4 separate regions of the Homo sapiens genome follow, and all the other regions are linked to region 1. Evidence: promoter capture Hi-C in 16 types of primary human blood cells and fetal thymus (Javierre and others, 2016). All regions are on one chromosome and are shown on one strand. Each heading gives the region's core, a stretch centred on a gene start or on the middle of the fragment in contact. The rest is flanking DNA. Distances are from core to core; before and after follow the strand shown.

Region 1 (2,882 bases), core at 169-2,668:
AATTAATGTTATACGAGAAAATAGCTACTTTCTACAAAATAAGGCAGTATAGAAGAAACAAAAAGATGTGACAGGTGGGCGCAGTGACTCATGCTTTTACATAATCCTAACGCTTTGGGAGGTCGAAGGGGGAAGATCGCTTGAGCCCAGGAGTTCAAGACCAGCCTAGGCAACATGGAGAGACCTTGTCTCCACAAAAAAAAAAAATTAGCTGGGCGTAGTCGCACACATCTGTGTTGCCTACTACTTGGGAGGCTGACGGGGGTGGATCGCTTGAGCTGGGGTTGTCAAGGCTTCAGTGTGCTATGATTGCGCCATTGCACTCCAGCCTGGGTGACACAAGACCCTGTATCAAAAAACAACCAAAAAAAAAAAAAAAGTGACATATAGAAAAGAAATAGCAAAATGGTCGGTGTACATGAACTCACAACATGTTGGGCCTGGGTGGTTGACACATTAAATGTCTGGCCAATTGAGCAAGACAGCCATTGATTGCCCCATTCTACATCCACAGAAGCAGAACCAGACAGGAAGTGATGAGATTTGCACGTGGGTCACATAGCTGACCTGTGGCAGAGGTGGCGTCTCAGCTACTGGCCGTTAGCTGTGCCTTCTGTTTGTGGCATAACACCATATTGCCTTAATGCCCTCGAAGTTTTATTTGTCTAGTTTGTTGTTATTGACATTGGAGGACAAGTCCTTTTTTTTTTTTTGAGACAAGAGTCTCTCTCTCTCTCTCCCCCAGACGGGAGTGCAGTGGCGCCATCTCCACTCACTGCAACCTCCGCCTCCAGGGTTCAAGCAATTCTCTGCCTCAGCCTCCCAAGCAGCTAGGATTACAGGCGCCCGCCACCACGCCCGGCTAATATATTTGTATTTTTAGTAGAGACGAGGTTTCACCATGTTGGCCAGGCTGGTCTTGAACGCCTGGTCTCATGTAATCTGCCCGCCTTGGCCTCCCAACGTGCTGGGATTACAGGCTTGAGCCACCGCGCCCGGCCGTGTTTTTTTTTTCTTCAGTTAAGTTGGGATAAAAAACGGCACCTACGTGCTTCGGGGCCTGTAGTGAGAATGGTGGACACGATTATTGTCGTTACGGCTCCTAAAACCCAGCGCGGCGAGAGCAGACTACAGCGGTGTCAAGGTTCCAAGTATTCCCCGCGGGCCTTATCCCAAGGGAGCAGCTTCTCCACGCCCCGCGACGGCGCCTGCGCAGACTCCGTGAGCGGGGTCGTGACCGGTGGGGCCAAGACTGGGCTGCGGGCGGGGAAGGCTTCCGTGCATTTACGTAGGGTGCAGGGCGTGGCCCGTTGGGGGCGGGGATTTGGGCGGTGTCGGTGCCCGCCCGGACTCCGTGAGCGGTGGGCGGAGCTGCGTGCTCTGGGGTGTGAGGTGGGGCGGACCCCGCGGCGGCGGCGCGGCTGACGTGGAGCGTCCGGGTTAGCGGGTGCGGCGAGCTGCGGGATTGGGGAGCAACGGGCCGGGCCGGGCCTTCGGGCCCGAGGCGGCGGCGGCGGTATAAAGCCGGCGACTGGGAGCATGTAATGTCGGAATGCGGAGGCCGCGGCGGCGGCAGCAGCAGCAGCGAGGACGCCGAGGACGAGGGAGGGGGCGGCGGCGGCCCCGCGGGCTCAGACTGCCTCAGCTCGAGCCCGACCCTGGCCACAGCGTCCTCGGCGGGCCGGCTCCGTCGCGGGCTGCGTGGCGCCTTCCTCATGGCGCGCCAGCGGCCGGAGCTGCTCTGCGGGGCCGTGGCGCTCGGCTGCGCGCTGCTCCTCGCCCTCAAGTTCACCTGCAGGTGAGGCGGCCCGGACCCTGGGGCCCCGCTAGGGCGCTCCCCTTGCTCTGCCGCCTGGAGCCTGCAGGGCCGGGTCGCAGCGGCCTCAGCCGGGGAAGTCGGGCCTGACCTTGCCCAGGACGGCTGACCCCTCCCGGAACCTGCGGCCACGGCTTCCCACCTTCTCCTCGCCCCGGCCCGCCCGCGGACATTATGGCGAGGCTTCCGGGTGGAGCCCTGCGCCCTATCGTCCCGCTTTAGTGCCGAGGGAGGCGGGTCGGGGGTGCTCCTCACCTGTTGGAGTCACTAGGGGTGGACCTGTCACTTCGGCCCGGGCTGTAGGACCCTCATTTCTCACCGATTTCATTCCCCTTAAGCTTCAGGTGTAGTGATCCACAACCTTGCGAGAGTTCCAGACCCCTTTTAGAATTCCCGCACTCATTGATCTAACGATTATTTTTATTTTGAGACGGAGTCACGCATTGTGTCCCAGGCAGGAGTGCAGTGGCGCGATCTCGGCTCACTGAAACCTCCGCCTCCCGGGTTCAAGGGGTTCTTCTGCCTCAGCTCCTGAGTAGCTCGGATTACAGGCGCGCGCCACCACGCCTGGCTAATTTTTGTATTTTTAGTAGAGACAGAGTTTCACCACGTTGGCCAGGCTGGTCTCGAACTCCTGACCTCACGTGATCCACCCGTCTCGGCCTCCCAAAGTGCTGGGATTACAGGCGAGAGCCCCGCACCCGGCCTGATCTAACGATTATTTATCTGCACCTACTATGTGCCGGACGCTCGTCCGGGTGAACTTTTTGCTCCCTTGAGTGGATGGGACAGTGAACAAGTAAATATAATTTTTTAAAGCTTCAGTGCTATGCAGGGCATAGAAACGATGGCGGTGGGGAAAGACTTCCTAAGGAAGTGACATTTGAAGCTTATACAAAAAGGAGAAGGGACCAGCGCTGGGAAGATCCCGGGGGAGCGTGTCCACGGTAGAGCGAACAGCAAATGCAGAGTTTCTGAGGCTGGGCAAGCTTGGTGTTTCCCTGGAATTGATAAAAAGGCCTGACAGTAGGCTGGGGTGTAGGGGGTAGGAACATGAAAGTTCATG
Region 2 (2,882 bases), core at 383-2,882, 390 kb after region 1:
TGTGTGTGTAGACAAGCAAGAACATACTGATCCTCCCAGCAATAATGATTTGGTGCCTACCAAGTGTCACATACCATGTAAAAGTGATCTACATCTTCATTTATTCCTCACACCAGTGCTATGAGCTGGGCATAATCTGCATTTTACAGATAAAGAAACTGAACAATGGAGAGGTTACGTACCTTGCTCATAGTCACACGGCAAGGTTACTTGCAAATGAAGGGCTCAAATTCAGGTTGACAGGACTGCAAAGTTCCTGTTAAAGCTCAGCAATATTGCCCGAAAAATCCCAAACTGTGAACATAAAACAGTTCAAAACAAGCTTCTTGTGGGCAACAAAAATGATGCATACTTTCCAATCTGCCCGGCTTTAAAAAGAAAATAGTTTAAAAGCACAGCACACCCGAGACACTGACAACACTCAGTGCTGGAGACGATGTGGAACAGTGACTCCCCTTCATTGCTGGTGAGAATGCAAAAGCAGACTGGCAGTTTCTACAAGGCTAACCATAGGTCTACCATATGGCCCAGCAATTGCACTCCTAGGCATTTACCCCAATGAGCTGAAAACTTACACCCACTCAAAACCTGGGCATGAATGTTTACAGCAGCTCTATTCATAGTTATCAGAGACTGGAGTCAAGATGTCCTTCAATAGGTGGATTAGATAAAACTATGGTACATCCATACAATGGAACATTATTCAGTGATAAAAAGAAATGAGCTGGCTGGGCGTGGTGGCTCATACCTGTAATCCCAGCACTTTGGGAGGCCAAGGTGGGAGGATTGCTTGAGCCGAGGAATTTGTGCCTGTAGTACCAGCTACTCAGGAGGATGACATGGGAGGATTGCTTGAGTTTGGGAGGTTGAGGCTGCAGTAAGCCACGTTCACGCCACTGTACGCCAGCCTGGGTGACAGGGCAAGGCCCCATCTTAAACAAACAAACAAAAATAAAAAACTCAAAATAAATAAATAAATAAATTAGCTGGGTGTGGTGGCACACATCTGTAATCCCAGCTACTCAGGAGGCTGAGGCGGGAGAATCGCTTGAACCCGGGAGGCAGAGGTTGCAGTGAGCAGAGATCACACCACTGCACTCCAGCCTGGGTGACAGGGTTAGACTCTGTCTCAAAAAAAAAAAAAAAAAAAAAAACAGTACCTAAGGAATTCTTCATGTTTCTATCTTGTAATAAGCACGGGCATTTATTGAAAAAAAAAAAAAAAAAAAAAAGCTAACAAGCTGCAAAAAGACCTGGAGGAGTCCAGACACAATGGCTCACACCTGTAATCCCAGCACTTTGGGAGGCCAAGATGGGAAGATTGCTTGAGCCCAGGAGTTTGAGACCAGCCTGGGCAACATGGCAAAACCTTGTCTCTACAAAAAATACAAAAAAATTAACCAGGCAAGGTGATGCGCACCTGTAGTCCTGCTACCTGAGAGGCTGAGATGGGAGGATCCTGAGCCTGAGAGGTTGAGGCTGTGGTGAGCTGTGATTGTGCCCTTGCACTCCAGCCTGGGCAAGACTGAGATTGTCTTAAAAAAGAAAAAAAAAAAAAGATATGGAGGAATCTTATATGCATAGTAAATGAAAGAAGCCAGTCTGAAAAAATTACTTACTGTATGATCCAACTATATGATATTCTGGAAAAGGCAAAACTGAAAAGAAAGATCAGTGACTGTCAGGGTTGGTGGGGAGGGGTGAATAAGGGGAACCCAGAGGATTTTTAGGGCAGTGAAGCTATTCTGGACGATACTGTAGTGGTGGATACATGTTATTATGCATTTGGCAAAATCCACAGAATGTATAAGAGAAGGAATAAAGCCTAATGTAAACTAAACTTTAGTTAATAAGAATGTAATGTTGGTTTATCAAATGTACCATCCTAATAAAAGATGTTCATAGCTGGAAAAACTGGGAGTGGGGTGTGTGGAGTATATGCGAACGCTGTAGTTTCTCCTCTATTTTCCTGAACACCTAAAACTGTTTTCTTAAGTCCATTAAAAAAAAAAACTCATACAGCCTATTAAAAATTTATTAGAGGTAGAATATCAATAATCCAGGTGAAAGTCTACAACCATGTCAGAACACAATCTAACTCCTTTGATATTTACAATCTCAAAAAATTCAGGCATGGGTACTAAGCAGACAGCAGAAACCCAACATTCAAAACCATCACAGCAAAAAGTCATTCCATACAAAGACAAAAGAACTCTACACCAGGAGGCTCACCATGTCTCGCCGAAAGTTATGAAGTGGAAGTTTAGCTAATGCCTGAAAGGCGTCCTTTATCTTGATGTTTTTCATTTCAACAAGAAATTCTGAAAACGTCTCAACATCTCTGAGTAATGGAAGAAGGCATCACCTTCTCTAGCTAGGAAAAGGGATAGAGCTGCGTCTAAATGTTTGAGTGGTGTCCGAAGCAGAAAGGGAGCTGTTGTCTTTCAGGGGCCGCCATGCCTGCCGTTAGGAAATGCCATTTGACTCGCAAACTGGTTATGGTAGTTGCTGATGAAGAAGATGAGGAGCCAGGATGTCATTCCTTTTTTACACAGTCTGTCTTCCTGCCCATAACCACACTTTAATCACCATGGGCAACGACCGTACTTAAATTTTGCATTGTAAAACAGGGACGCAGCAGTAATGGAAAAAGTATCATCACTCATAAAATTTGGAAAATGCAACATGAGACTTCTGTGTCTGAGAGAGAGAGAGAGAATTAACACACACAAACCAGGAAGGAAAATGAAACACAAGCATCTGCTTTTCATCAGCAAACACAGGCAAAGCAAGGGGCAGCAGAGGCTGTGTCACTGAAGTATCCGAGGATTTAAACATTCCTACATCCGGACTCCTTGGTCAACCAAAGCAAGGCTCTCTGA
Region 3 (2,882 bases), core at 276-2,775, 370 kb after region 1:
AGTGGCTCACGCCTGTAATCCCAGCACTTTGGGAGGCCGAGGCGGGTGGATCATGAGGTCAGGAATTCAAGACCAGCCTGGCCAACACGGTGAAACCTCATCTCTACTGGAAAAAAAAAAAAAAAAAAAAAAAATCCGGGCATGGTGGCTGGCGCCTGTAATCCCAGCTACCCAGGAGGCTGAGGCAGAGAACTGCTTGAACCCAGGAGGCGGAGACTGCAGTGAGCCAAGATCACACCACTGCACTCCAGCCTGGCGACAGAGTGAGACTCCGTCTCAAAAAAAAAAAAAAAAAGTTTGGGTCGGGCACAGTGGGTCACGCCTGTAATCCCAGCACTTTGGGAGGCCAAGGTGGGTGGATCATGAGGTCAGCAAATCGAGACCATCTTGGCTAACACGGTGAAACCCCGTCTCTACTAAACATACAAAAAATTAGCCGAGTGAGGTGGCGGGCTCCTGTAGTCCCAGCTACTTGGGAGGTTGGGGCAGGAGAATGGCGTGAACACGGGAGGTGGAGCTTGCAGTGAGCGGAGATCGTGCCACTGCACTGTAGCCTGGGCGACAGAGCGAAGGCTCCATCTCAAAAAAAAAAAAAAAAAAAAAGTTTGATCTTAGGCCTTACAATAGTCCAATGAGGAACGGATGATCCCCACTTAATGAGAGAAGAAACAAAGGCTCAGAGAGTTGAGGGGATTTCCCCAAGGTCATACAAGCTACAAACAGCCAGGATGGCACTGACGCGGGCCTGCCTGCCTCCCAAGGCTGCCCAAGCTCACTCAACCCCCACTTCTGCTTTTGCAATAAAAGAAAAGCAAATCACTGGTGCTCAGGGGCCCATGAGCAATTCAGAGTCAGATGCAACTAGAGTGTGCAGCCACCTGACCTGTTGGTTTCTCAATATGCTTAACGGATCCATGATTTCTGGTCCAGAAAGGAAACGCAGAAGCTTTCCTTCCTGCCTCCCACATTCTATGGGTCAAGTATTTACCAAAAACACAGCAGTGGACTGGACACCAGCAGAGATACAAAGAGGGAAACATAGTTCTCCCTTCTCAAGGCAGGTTGGACAACATCAATACTTTCCAACTGGGGGGTGTGGGTGGAGTACTTATGCATGAATTTGAAACAGATAGGAGAGGGAATGATTCCAGCGGAAAGACCAATTCACGTCTACAATATACACTGAACTCCAGCCTGGACAACATAGCAAGACTCTGTCTCTAAAAAAATTTAATCATTAGCCAGGCATGGTGGCACATGCCTGTCTAGGAGGCTGAGGCAGGAGGATCACTTGAGCCCAGGAGTTCAAAATCACAATCAACTATGATCACACCACTGCACTCCAGCCTGGGCATCAGAGCAAGGCCCTATCTCCAAAACAAAACAAGGTAAGATGTTTACATACAAATCAAGGTAAGAAAATCCAAAATAAAATATTACCAAACAAACCCCACTGGGGCCTTAAAAAAAAAGTGACCTAAACCAAGTGAGAATTGTACAGTGTGACAAGGATAGCTCAAAATTAGAACATCTTTTAATTTCAAATATATATATATATATATATATATATATATATATACACACATATTTTTTTTTTTTTTTTTTTTTTCCTGAGATGGAGTCTCGCTCTATTGCCCAGGCTGGAGTGCAGTGGTGCGATCTAGGCTCACTGCAAGCTCCGCTTCCTGGGTTCACTCAGTTCTCCTGCCTCACCCTCCCGGGACTACAGGCGTCCGCCACCACACCTGACTAGCTTTTTTGTATTTTTAGAAGAGATGGGGTTTCACCATGTTAGCCAGGATGGTCTTGACCTCCTGACCTTGTGATCTGCCTGCCTCAGCCTCCCAAAGTGCTGGGATTACAGGTGTGAGCCACTGCGCCCAGCCTAATTTCATTCATATTAATATGTTAAAAATCATAATCATCGTAGATGTTGAAAAGGCATTTGACAAAATTTACTACAAAATTTAGAAAAAAACACATCAAATTAGAAAGAGGGATACTTCCTTAAATTACACACGATAAAGGAAATTACACCCAGACACACACCCATCAAGCCAGAGCCCAGCATCATTTATAGGGGATGGAAGCAACAGAAGCTTCCATTAACCTTCGCAACAAAAGAATGCCCTCTGTTACCACTATTATTTTGGAGGCCCTAGCTGATGAAACTAGGCAAGGAGGAAAGTAAGACATTTAAGAAAAAAGCAGGAGGTAAAATAATTTACTCTGAAAAATGAGGCAGACAGATTTTGCTAAGGAGTTAGGTACAAAAGTAACATAATAAGCAGCCTTCCTTTTTCTTAATTTTTAAAATATAGAGATGGGGCCGGGCACAGCTCACGCCTGTAATCCCAGCACTTTGGGAGGCCGAGAGAGGCGGATTGCTCGAGGCCAGGAGTTCGGTACCAGCCTGGCCAACATGGCAAAACTCCACCTCTACTAATAATACAAAAATTAGCTGGGTGTGATGGCACACACCTGTAATACCGGGTACTCAGAAGGCTGAGGCATGAGAATTGCTTGAACCCAGGACATGGAGGTTGCAGTGAACCGGGACTGCATTACTGCACTTAGCCTGGGTGACAAAGAAAGACCCTGTCTCAAAAAAAAAATAACATAAAGATGCGGTCTTACTATGATGCCCAGGCTGGTCTCAAACTCCTGGGCTCGAGCAGTCCTTCTGCCTCAGTCTCCCTAAGTGCTAGGATTATAGATGTGAGCCACCAAGGCTGGCCTCAGTCCTCCTATGTACAAACAAGCAGTTAGAAAAGTTAACAGAAGAAAACATCCCATTTGCAACAGCACACTCCCAAAAAACAAAATTCTCAGAAATAAATGTGCAAAAATATACACACACAATCCATATGAAGAAATCTTTC
Region 4 (2,882 bases), core at 268-2,767, 340 kb after region 1:
CGGGCACGGTGGCTCGCGCCTGTAATCCCAGCACTTTGGGAGGCCGAGGCGGGTGGATGACCTGAGGTGAGGAGTTCGAGACCAGCACGGCCAACATGGGGAAACCCCGTCTCTACTAAAAATATGGAATTAGCCAGGCGTGGTGGCACATGCCTATAATCCCAGCTACTTTGGAGGCTGAGGCAGGAGAATTGCTTGAACCCAGGATGTGGAGGTTGCAGTGAGCCGAGATTGCGCCGTTGCACTGCGGCCTGGGTGACAAGAGTGAAACTCCATCTCAAAAGGAAGAAAAGAAAAAAGAAATCTCTGGGGGAGGGGCATTCGAGGCAGGTAAAGAGACTGTGGTATATATACACCATGGAATATTACACAGCCGGAAAAAAGAATGAAATTCTGTCCTTTGCAGCAGCAGGGATGCAATTATCCTAAGTGAACTAGCTCAGAAACAGAAAACCCAGTATCACATGTTCTCACTTGTAAGCAGGAGCTAAACATTGAATACACATGGACATAAAGATGGAAACAGTAAACACTGAGGGCTCCAAAAGGGAGGAGGGTGAGAGGGAGCCAAGGGTTGGAAAATTACCTGCCTGGTATGATGTTCGATATTTGGGTGACAGGGACGCTGGAAGCCCAGTCCCCACCATTACACAATATACCTATGTAACAAACATGCACACTGACCCCCTCAATCTAAAATACATTTTTTAAAAAGAGTATTCCAGGCAGAGGGAACAAGACATGCAAAGGGCCTGGGGCAGGGATGGGTTTGCATGTTTTAGGAATGGCCAAGGAGCCACTGGGCTGGAGCTGGGTGGGTGGGGAATGGTAGGAGGTGGTCTGATCACACAGGGTCAGTCAGGCCACAGGGAGGCGTTTGCATTGTGTTCTATCTGCTACTAGAAGCCTTTGAAGCCATGATCAAATAAATGATGATTTCAGATCCCTCTGGCTGCTGTGTGGGGAGGGACCTACAGGTGGCAGAAGTGAGCAGTGAGGAAGCCCCATAATGGGCAGGGGCAGGGCAATAATAATGCGTGGACCAAGCTGGGGGCAGTAGTGATAGGTTTTAGAGACGTTTAAGAGCAAACTTCCTTCCCCACCCCAGCAGTCCCCCTGCAGTGCCCTCAAGTCACCCTCGGACTGTGGCACCCACCAGCAGGGACGGCGTCCCTCTCCGAACCTTTGCACAGGCTCTTCCATCTGCCTAGAATGCTCTTCCCTGCCTCCTCCCCAAGCTTGCTTCTCTGCGTTCCTTTCTCCCTTGAATGTCTCTTGTGACCATCCTTGTCACCTTATCCCATCATTTTCTGTCCTGTGACTATCTCGACTATCTCCCTGGGAGCCCCTTAAGGGCCAGGACCAGGTCTTGGCTAGCTTTGTACCCAGGCACTCAGCACTGGCTTGGGAGCATGATACCTGCTCGCTACATGATTGAGAAACCGCAATACCAACTGCGTGCCTCCTACAAGCTCCTCTCCACCGTGTAGCCCTGGGCTGAGTGCACCACTTGTATCATCTTGCAAAGGTTGACACTTTCTGGCCTCCATTTTCTAGGAAACTGAGGCTCAGAGAGGTTGAAAAATGCCCAGAGCCACACAGCTTGGCCATGGAATTGAGAAGTGGCTGTTCTGTGCTGTCTCCTGTTGGCCATACTCCCCTCACCTACTCCTCTCCTTTAAATTATCTGCTCATCCTTAGGAAGCATTTGGGTTTTTGATCCCCTGACATATGTCACCATTCAGGAAACTGTAAATGATCCACAAATATTCCCTTTTTCCTCCTCTGCAAGCTTCTCTTCTTTCCCATCCCAGGCAGAAGCATGGGTCGGGTTCCCCCATGACGCCGTCATTCTCTTCCAGCTCAGCGCTCTTCCCAGGGAGCTGTTCCTGCAGACCGCATACGAGCGAGCTCATGGGACCCGTGTCCTGCGCCAGGTGGTGCTGTGGGATGGCCAGGAGGTGGCCCTCACCGGGAGCCTTTCTGGGCCTTTCCCCAAGCCCACCAGGAACCTCAGCCTGCAGGGTGAGTGTGTGAGGGGCTGCAGGCAGGGGTGGCCCAGTCACTCAAGAAATCATCCCTGGCCAGGCGCGGTGGCTCATGCCTGTAATCCAAGCCCTTTGGGAGGCCGAGGTGGGTAGATCACTCGAGGTCAGGAGTTTGAGACCAGCCTGGCCAACATGGTGAAACCCCATCTCTACTAAAAATACAAAAATTAGCCAGGCATGGTGGCAGGCACCTACAATCTCAGCTACTTGGGAGGCTGAGGCAGGAGAATCGCTTGAACCTGGGAGGCAGAGGTTGCAGAGAGCCGAGATTGAGCCAGTGCATTCCAGCCTGAGCGAGAGTGAGACTCGGTCTCAAAAAAGCCATGACTGAGCACCTGCATATCCCAGGTGTAATCTAGGCACCAGGGGTCCATCAGGAAGCAAGATGGCCCAGGTGTCACCCCTCAGGGAGACAGGCATTGAGCAACAAGATGCACATAAGCAAAATAACGTCAAGCATGACCATTTCCACGAGTGGGAAAGGCTGTGAGAGCAAGCAGGGTCTTTGTGGGGTGTGGGCCTCCTTTAGGTGGGGTGGTCTGGGAAGGCCTCTTGGAGGAGGTGACTTCTGAACTGAGTTCTGAAGGATGAGAAGGAGCTGGCAGATCTGAGCAGAGGCACTTCAGGCGGAAGGCCCCACTTGGAAATGAGGTTTGCATGTGGAGCAGCAGCTGCGGGGCTAGCATGGCTGGAATGGGGAGAAGGGATGAGGCGAGGCAGGAGGGCTGGGGGACCCAGGTCATGCAGCGTCTCAGCTCATAGAGAGGAGCTGGGGCTTATCCTGAGTGCAGCCGGGCAGGGAGAAGGGGCCAGGGCGTGGAAGAGGTGGCATCC

What was found. The method cuts DNA at HindIII sites, captures the fragments that hold promoters and counts their contacts. A CHiCAGO score of 5 or more calls a contact.
Region 2: a contact is called between a fragment that was not itself captured here and the fragment with the promoter of TXNDC11 in region 1, in 1 of 17 cell types (monocytes). The highest score is 5.5, in monocytes.
Region 3: a fragment that was not itself captured here is called in contact with the fragment with the promoter of TXNDC11 in region 1 in 1 of 17 cell types (activated CD4 T cells); the score reaches 5.1 in activated CD4 T cells.
Region 4: a contact is called between a fragment that was not itself captured here and the fragment with the promoter of TXNDC11 in region 1, in 5 of 17 cell types (naive CD4 T cells, naive CD8 T cells, monocytes and 2 more). The highest score is 6.4, in naive CD4 T cells.

What each region holds. Positions count from the first base shown.
Region 1 is chr16:11,741,393-11,744,274 of GRCh38, reverse strand. TXNDC11 (thioredoxin domain containing 11) reads left to right here and starts at 1,418. Exons shown (of 12, transcript NM_015914.7): 1 at 1,418-1,798. The coding sequence starts at 1,545. It overlaps TXNDC11-AS1 (TXNDC11 antisense RNA 1), which reads right to left and starts at 1,261. Exons shown (of 1, transcript NR_186412.1): 1 at 1-1,261. RefSeq lists silencers at 916-1,438, 1,301-1,970. The HindIII fragment of the contact is 4,507 bases long and covers 1-2,156 here.
Region 2 is chr16:11,350,900-11,353,781 of GRCh38, reverse strand. RMI2 (RecQ mediated genome instability 2) reads right to left here. Exons shown (of 2, transcript NM_152308.3): 2 at 2,022-2,882. The region is part of intron 1 of LOC105371082 (a long non-coding RNA gene); the gene reads right to left. Among named protein-coding and RNA genes, the nearest start is that of RMI2, 6.9 kb to the right of the region's middle. The HindIII fragment of the contact is 2,616 bases long and covers 325-2,882 here.
Region 3 is chr16:11,368,676-11,371,557 of GRCh38, reverse strand. The region is part of intron 1 of LOC105371082 (a long non-coding RNA gene); the gene reads right to left. Among named protein-coding and RNA genes, the nearest start is that of RMI2, 25 kb to the right of the region's middle. RefSeq lists enhancers at 333-833, 1,019-1,078. The HindIII fragment of the contact is 1,153 bases long and covers 949-2,101 here.
Region 4 is chr16:11,403,847-11,406,728 of GRCh38, reverse strand. LOC400499 (putative uncharacterized protein LOC400499) reads left to right here. Exons shown (of 67, transcript NM_001370704.1): 48 at 1,863-2,025. Among named protein-coding and RNA genes, the nearest start is that of RMI2, 60 kb to the right of the region's middle. The HindIII fragment of the contact is 554 bases long and covers 1,241-1,794 here.